Linked DNA regions of Homo sapiens: region 1 is linked to region 2. Evidence: promoter capture Hi-C in 16 types of primary human blood cells and fetal thymus (Javierre and others, 2016). All regions are on one chromosome and are shown on one strand. Each heading gives the region's core, a stretch centred on a gene start or on the middle of the fragment in contact. The rest is flanking DNA. Distances are from core to core; before and after follow the strand shown.

Region 1 (4,081 bases), core at 531-3,030, 340 kb after region 2:
TTTTAAAGTTAAAAAATATTGTAAAAGTATCAATATGCTTTGCCAAACATTCAAACCATACAGAAGCATATTTAAGCAAATACGTTACATGCCTGGTCTCTTCTCTCTTCCCCAGACCTTTCTCTGTGAACTTCATTCACCATAGGTGGCTACCACAGCCACCCATCACCTTCAGATGCTTCCCTGAACTCCTTCTGGGCCTTTCCCTAAGAGCATAGTATTCACATTGCTTTGCAACCTTGGTTTTTTAATTTAACCATATGTTGTGGACATCTTCCAGGTCAGTACATTTGATTTAACTCATTCTTTTTATCGGCTGCCAAGCAGTGATGAGCTGCCAGTACCTAACATTTGTTGAATGTGTCTATGTACCAAGTACCAGGTGTCATTTTTATTTTATTCTCACAAAAACCATATGAGATAGGTACTTTTTTCTATCCTATTTTTGTATGAGGAAACTGAGGGTTTTAAAAAATTATAATCCACTTAACTAGTCCCTATTAAGGCATAGTTAATTGAATATATATTTATACACACATACACACATCTGTAGGGTAAGTCCTGGATTCATTCATCCCACACTGATTTTTGAGAGCCCACTATGTGCCAAGAAATGTGGTAGGCACTAGGAATGCTGTGTTGAAGACAATATAGATCCTGCTTCAGTGGCGCTTATACAGTAGTGCCTAGACAGGCAAGAGTCATGACATCAGGTGGTGACGTAAGCTAAGAACAATAAGACAGTGGAGGGAATGGAGAGTGACAGAGTTACTATTCCAGAGTGTGTGGTCAGGAAAGACTTCTCTGGTGAGAGACTTGATGAAGCAAGGGAGAGAACATTCTGGAACAGGAAATCAAAGATGGAAATGTGGCAGGTTCAAGGACAGAAGAGCATATCAAGGATAACTCCAGGGTTCCGGGACTTCACTAATATGCTGAGTGGCAGGGCCATTTACTAAGAGGGGATGGGGAGCAGGAGCAGTTTTGAGAAGGTAGGGGAAAGGAAAAAGAATTCCATCGTGGACTGATGTTTGCTGTGTTTATTACACATCCAAAGGGAGGTGTTCAGAAAGGAGCCTGGGGTGCAGAGGAGAGGTCAGGGCTGGAGACTTAATTTGGCCACTGTCAGTCTATGAGACATGTTGAAAGATACAGGACTGACTGAGTGCACCTGAGTGAGGGAGGCAGAGAAGACCAGAATTTCTAAGTCAAGGAAATGCAAACATATTCCTAAATGTTGTCAAATTGTTCTTGAAAAAGTTTTGCCAACTTATACTTACCAATACCCCAGGAGAAGGCTGACTCCATACCCAGGGGTGAAAAATAAACTATTGTTTCCATTTAAATTTGTATTTATTTACTATGAATTAAATTGAGCACATTTCCAATGTTTCATTGGCCCTTTGCTCCATTTTATCCTGTGATATGCCTCTTCATGCCGTTTGCCCATCTGATCAATTGATAAGAATATTGATTTACAGGATTTATTGATCTATACATTTATTGATTTATAAGAGCTCTTAGAATATTTATATTTAAGAACATTAATTCTTTGTCATATGTTTTACAGCTTTTTATTTTTTCTTCTGATTTTCAAAGTGCTTTTTGAAGTTCAGATGATTAAAAGTTTTATGTAGTCAAGTCTAATAATATCTTTTCCTTTTAAAGCTTCTGAGTTCAATACTTAGAGCGGTCTTTTAAAATCTAAGACGGCAATAGGATTCCCCAGGTTTTCTTGTAATTAAAAGTTTCCAGTGTGTCTGATTTCTCTTATTTTCACTGCAGAATTACTCAGCAAAGGAATCCATGGAACTAATTTCTTTTTAGGCTCATTTGGCAACAGTTTGCTGCTGGTGAAGCAGGAGGAGGTTAAATAGCAGCTGCCAAGCTTTTGGTTGTGCCCAGAGCCCAGCACACGATAGGTGCTTAACATATCTTTACTGAAGGAATGCTTTGCTGGCTTTTGTTTTAACATGGGTAAAACTCTTCATAGTTGCCAAGTACTTCCCTGATGTTATCTCTTCCGAAGCTCCAGCCTTTCCTGCAGTAGAAAAAGGGGCCGGGGAGGAGGCCAGGGTGACTTGGTCAGCACTGACCAGAGCTAGGGACGACAGCTTTATAGAGGAAACGCCTCGCAGACGCCACTGGGGCAGTTCCTCTTCACCTTTCTTGGATTTGGTGACTGGAGAATTTCAAATACACAATTGCAGTTTCTACTCTGGAGCTCGCTTTGAGGAAGGAGAAAGTGTTTGCTACTCTAAACGAAATATATTGTAGGCAAAATGCATTTTGTTTTGCAAGCAGGGAGCTAGTGTGTGTGTGTGTGTGTGTGTGTGTGTGTGTGTGTGTGTGTGTGTGGTGGGGGGGGGGGTCCCAGTTTCCAGTCCTTTTCTTGTCACTTTCTGCCATCTACTGGCCATAGCACAAAATACTCTGGAATGACTTCAATGATGCCTATGAAGAAAGAGGCTTTATTCCTGTACGTTCTCAACCTGAAATGTAATTTCCCAGATAAATTTTGCCATAATTCACCAGGATCCAACATTTATTTTTTTCAAAATAACAGTTCTGTGAAGGGACTGAATTATTTGAGCAATGACTTTATTATTTTTGTTCCTTTGTCTGAGAAGCAGTATTTGAACTCTGACCACCTGAGTTTAAATATTGGCTGTATAATTTATTGTCTGTGTGACCTTCAGCAAGAAACTCAACCCCTCAGTGCCTTATTCTCCTCATTTGCAATGTGGATTTGATACTAGATCTTGCCTCTTAGGGTTTTGCTTAGATTACGTTGAGTTCTCAAATATAAAGCATATAGTATCTTGCACTGCAAGAGTACTCCATAAATGTTATCTGTTATTTGCTTGAAATCTATGTGAGTTTAGGTAGGCATTACTCTGGGACATAGAGAATTCCATAAATTAGGTATTTATAACCTATGCCCAATATTTGTGTACCAATTTTGTTTCCAAACTGCTTGCATTTTAACTCTGGAAATTCAGCCCAAAAACAGCAGCCTCTGTTCTGGAGCCCTCTTTATTACCTCCTGCTGGAATAATCCATATTACCTCTGAGCTCCCATAGCCCAGTATCTGGTCCTCTCTTGGACTGACGATTTCACCTTGGAATGTGAACTTGTCTCGCCTTGTACATTGCCTGGGTCCCTGAGGGTAAGACGCAGTCTGATTCATCATTATCTCTCACAGTCTCCCTTACACTATGTTATTCAGCAACTACTCAACAAATATTTGTTGAAAAGCCGAATGAATAATCTCATTTGATTCTCCCAGGAATCCTGAGTCAGGTACAGCAGATATGAATTGTGCACACTGAATAGATGAGGAATTGTGAGACTTGCCCCAGATGAGATGGAATGGGGCTAGAATTCAAGGCTGGGGAGAGTCTGTGACATGCCAAGAATGTGCATGAAAGAGAATCAAGGGAGCAACATAGAGGAAAAGGCTCATCCCCAGCCCGTATGCAATGGAGCTACACACTGAAGAATAATTTTGGTGGGGCTAGGAGGAAGGGTTTCGTGTCTGAAGCTGATCTTCTGGCTGTCATGCCTCATCCAAGTCCCACGGAACTGCATTTTCATAGTCCAGTGCCAACTTCCACATTTCCACTGTCTCATCAATGATTGTCAGTCTCATGACTAATGCTTTGGGACTAGATGTCAAAATATTTATTTCTCAAAATCACTTATGATTGTCAAGGGGCCACAGAACCCCTTCAGAATATCCCTGTTACTTATGATTAGGTACAAAGATCCTAGCTTTACTGGGAGTCAGGGACCATGAAGATGTCTCTATTCTATTATTCTCTATTACATTTTCATCCTTTGCTTCCACAGACGAAGGCCAAGTGAGTCTCTCCTGATGATGTTCAACCTTCATTCAACAAGTTGAATAATTACAACAAGCCATAATTACTGTTGTACATGTGTACAACAAGTGCCTATGGAGCACCTGCTAGGGGCCATGTTATGCTGGGTGCACAGGGAAGATGTGGTCCTTGTCCTCTTGCTTACAACCAGGAGGAAAGCCAATTGCACATATGAGCCATTGATATCAGTCAGCCT
Region 2 (3,937 bases), core at 192-2,691:
AGTAGCTGGGACTACAGGCGCACGCCGCCACCCCCGAAACATTTTTTGAATTTTAGTAGAGACGGGGTTTCACCGTGTTGCCCGGGCTGGTGTCGAACTTCTGAGCTCAGCCAATCCCCCAGCTTTGGCTTCCCAAAGTGCTGGGATTACAGGTGTGAGCCACCGCGCTTTTTGGTTTCCAATTCTCTTCCCCAAGAGGCCAGGAATTTTTGCATGAGTTGCCGGACACTGAAGTGATTTGGGACAATACATTGTGTGCCAACGACTTCAAGGTCCCTTTTCAACAAAGGACTGGAATCTTACCGAGATAAATCCCAAGACATGTTTGTAGCAATGCAAAGGACCACAGAAATCTAGACAAATTATTTAATTTTGCAGCTACAGAAACCTAGGATCTCAGGGGCTGGGATACTCCTCAGTTATCCAATCGGGCAGGGCCTAAAACCCAGGTTCAGTCGCCTGGCTCCGAGCTTTTTCCATCATACCAGCTGCGTCTCATTAACTCCACCTCCGAAAGTGCTAAGGAAGTTCCCTCCCAGTGCCTACCCAGGCAGGGTGGGGCGATTCTGTGGCATGGAACAAACCGGGAAAACGACATTTTCCAACTCTCAGCACACAGGCTGCTTTTTATCATTCCTACGGGGCGGGAGGGGGCAGGGAGAGAAGGCTAAGACACCGGGTCCAGTACCCAGAGATTCTAGGGAGAGATCTCTGAGATTGCCTACTTGGTGAGGCCACCTTACTTTCTCCTGGTCTGTTTTCCCCTGTGGGGTGGCTGCATGAAACGTCCTGCTTGGAGGGTTCCCCAATATAAGGTGGACTATTCTGAATGTAGGTCGGGGTGAGCAAGTTCCTGCCGCCGCCCCGTCTCTGCGGTCCTCGGAAGTCTAGGTGGGCTCTTCCTTGCCTTGCCTCTTTCTCCCCAACGGCGGGAGCAGCCCAGGGTTGGGGTGGCTGCGGTCGCCTTGCTCTCTCCACTTCCACGTCTCTTACTCCAGGGAGTTTCATCCGGTCCTCCGTCCTCGGCCCCCACCTTTTAAAACATTTTCCAAAACTACCCCATTAAAAGTGTGCGACTTCTCCGGGCCTGCAGAAGGAGCTCCTGCAGCCCGGCATTCCTCGGATTCCAGCGCTGTGACGTCCCCAAGGACGGCGCGCCTCCAGCTCGGGAGCTCGGGAGCTGGGGCTCCACGTTTCAGCGCGCGCCCGCGGCGCCCCCGGCGCGCGCCCTCCCGGGCCGCATTCCTCCCCGCCCCCGGCCGCGCGCCCAGCGCTCCCTCCGCCTCCCGGCCCCCAGGGCCGCGGAGCCCGGCTCTGGGGTGGGGGAGCCGTGGCCGCCGGCGCCTGCTCCGTCCCCTCCCACTCGCACGGCCCCTTCCTCCCTCCTCTCCCGGCCGCTCGCATTTCCTGCCGCTCTGGCTCTCCCGGCCCCTCAAAGTTCTTTCCAACTTTTTCTCGGCGGAGTGAGCGCAGCGGGCGCAGACTCGGGGGCAGGTTGCTGTGCTTCTCCGGGCTCAGCCGCCTGCTCTCCTGGCTCAGGTCCTCGGGGAGCCCTAGACAGACATCAAGTGGCCACTGGCGCTCCTTCCCCTCCCAGCTGAGCCATCCTCCCCGGCCTCCTCGGGCGGGACAGCCCCGTGCTTAGGTTTTTCTCCTTTTCTCCCCCGGTGCGCCTCTGCTCGGACTCTCGCGCCGGGATCGCGGCGGAAACCTCCCTCCCCTTTCGCCTCCTGCGGCTCCTTCCCTTCGCCCCTCCTCCGCCAGTCACTGGAATCAATTCCGTGGGGAATCGGCTCCGCCGCCGCGAAGGACAGCCTTTCCGCGCGGGACTCCGGGGCGCCACGGGGGCCATGTAAGCAGGTAAGCCCCGTCCAAGCCGGGAGTTGGGCCCGAGGTTGGAGGCCGCCTTGGCGCTCCGGGCGCCCTGCAGATGACTTGGGCAGACGCTGGCAACGCCAACTTGCGATTGGCGCCCCGGGACGCCTGGCAGGGCAGCCTGGGGCGCGGGGTGGCCGGGCCGCAGGGGTGTTATCTCGCGGTGGGAGCTGCCCGCGGTGAGGCGCAAAGCTGGTCCCGGGAGCGAGCTGGAAGGTGAGCGCAGTCTGGGGAGTTTGTGGTTAAACCCACACCCTGGTCCCCTCTCTCCATTCCCTTCTGCGTTTTGGGAACGAGAGAGGGCCTCGGAAGGGCAACTAGAGATACCTAGACCTTGGGGGCTAGAGGATGAAAGACGAACGACGTCGCGGTCGCTGCAGCGGTAGGGGGATGCAGCTGCCCGACGCTCCCAATCACACCCCACCACCACCGGGAAGGAATCTTGAGGGGAGCGGAGTTTTCCTGCCCTCTCACTAGGCCCCAGTGGTGCCACCGAACTCCTGGGCGTCGAGGCTCCTACTTGGGTGGTCGAGCTGGCTCGTAGAAAAAAAGCTGTGGCCAAACAATTTCAGATCAGGTCTTCACCTCAAACTTCCAAAGTTGTAGGTATTAACAGCCTCTCCTTCCCCACGTGACCCCCAGATCTCAGGTTTGAATACTTGTAAATGGGGTTTACACCTTTTCGTTTGGAGAGAGCAGTGAGGTAACGCTGCCCCTATCTCCCTTTCCCTCTCACTTCCTTGGGTTCTTGTTCTCCAACCTTCTCATCCCCACCTACAATTTCAGAAATTGTGGGGTTTCCGCTTAAGTCTAGGGACTGGCTGTCGCAGGTTCTTTGTGAAGGTGAGGAATCTCTAGACTGCAGGTGCGGGCAGTTACAGAGTTTCCACCAATGTGTTAACTTCTTGAAATGGATTAGTTTACTCATTCATCCAACAAACCCAGCTTCTACTCTGCTAGGAACAGGATAGAAAGATGCTAAATGAGATCACAGGGCAGGAGTCTGCAGCCTAGTGGAGGAAACTTGAAGGCCGGTGAAGAATGATAATACATGGAAGAGGGGTTCTGTGAGAGTCTGAGGCGAGCTTGGTCCTGGTGAAGGGTGCACTACACTTAGAGGATAGAGGTTGTGCTCCTCTGGAGGGTGTATTCCAGGCAGAGGAAACAGCTCGTGCAGAGTGAACACAAGAAGGACAGAAAGTTTCCCTAGCCATCTGGGGGCCTGAGGGGCATTTATGGCCATGTTGGTGCAGTGTTGCTGGGATAGCATTCTCTCCACCCCCAATATCAGAAATAAATCTAGAAGCACGTTAGCCACTTATGGGAACCACAAGTAGCTTACCGAGGAGCCAAGGCCTCCCTAATTGGATACACCTCCATGCCTGCTGCTGTTTTACCACAAGCAGCTGTTGTATGATCATCTACATTTTAATTGGCCCATGCTCGGTTTCATTAAAATGGTATTGATTCTTCTTTTTTGTCCCCCACATTCAAGCAATGATTCCTTTTTTAAAAAGGCTGTTTGACAGCCGTAGGTGTGGTAATACCGCAGCATTACGGACCTTGTATTATAAAGTTAGCTAATTGTTTGGTGATGAGGTTGAAGCTTGTGCCATAGAAATGACAGCCTTAATGAGCGGGAGCTGAATGGCATGATGCCCTTTTTGCCCAGTCTGAATGGGTGGCCATGAGGTGCAAAATTCGTTCATCTGTATGTCACTAAGTTTGTTATACTTTTCTCTGCTTTTAAGTCATTACTATTGCTTTAGCACAGTTGTGCTAAAGTCGTTCTTTTCTCTGAAACTTTATGAAAATAGAAAACACTATCTTGCACATTTTTGTAGACTAATGGCCCAGGATTCAGCAAATCCTGCCTAGAAAAGTTTCTTACAATGCAGTAGCATTCTGTACGTGGTTTGCCTTTCAAGGGTGTCTCTTCACTGGACTGAAGTGGTGTTGTAGTATTGTTCATAGTGGCTGAGTCCTGGCTGAGGTGGCAGACATCCAGCTTTTGGTGACCTCAGGCCAGTACATCAGAGTGGGAAGAACACACTGACTTCCT

Evidence for each region. The method cuts DNA at HindIII sites, captures the fragments that hold promoters and counts their contacts. A CHiCAGO score of 5 or more calls a contact.
Region 1: a contact is called between a fragment that was not itself captured here and the fragment with the promoter of PTPN14 in region 2, in 2 of 17 cell types (megakaryocytes and endothelial precursors). The highest score is 6.0, in megakaryocytes.

The regions. Positions count from the first base shown.
Region 1 is chr1:214,212,449-214,216,529 of GRCh38, reverse strand. No RefSeq gene overlaps it. Among named protein-coding and RNA genes, the nearest start is that of SMYD2, 67 kb to the left of the region's middle. The HindIII fragment of the contact is 220 bases long and covers 1,671-1,890 here.
Region 2 is chr1:214,549,106-214,553,042 of GRCh38, reverse strand. It overlaps PTPN14 (protein tyrosine phosphatase non-receptor type 14), which reads left to right and starts at 1,441. Exons shown (of 19, transcript NM_005401.5): 1 at 1,441-1,860. RefSeq lists enhancers at 315-1,135, 1,136-1,956, 1,957-2,778. The HindIII fragment of the contact is 5,292 bases long and covers 1-3,483 here.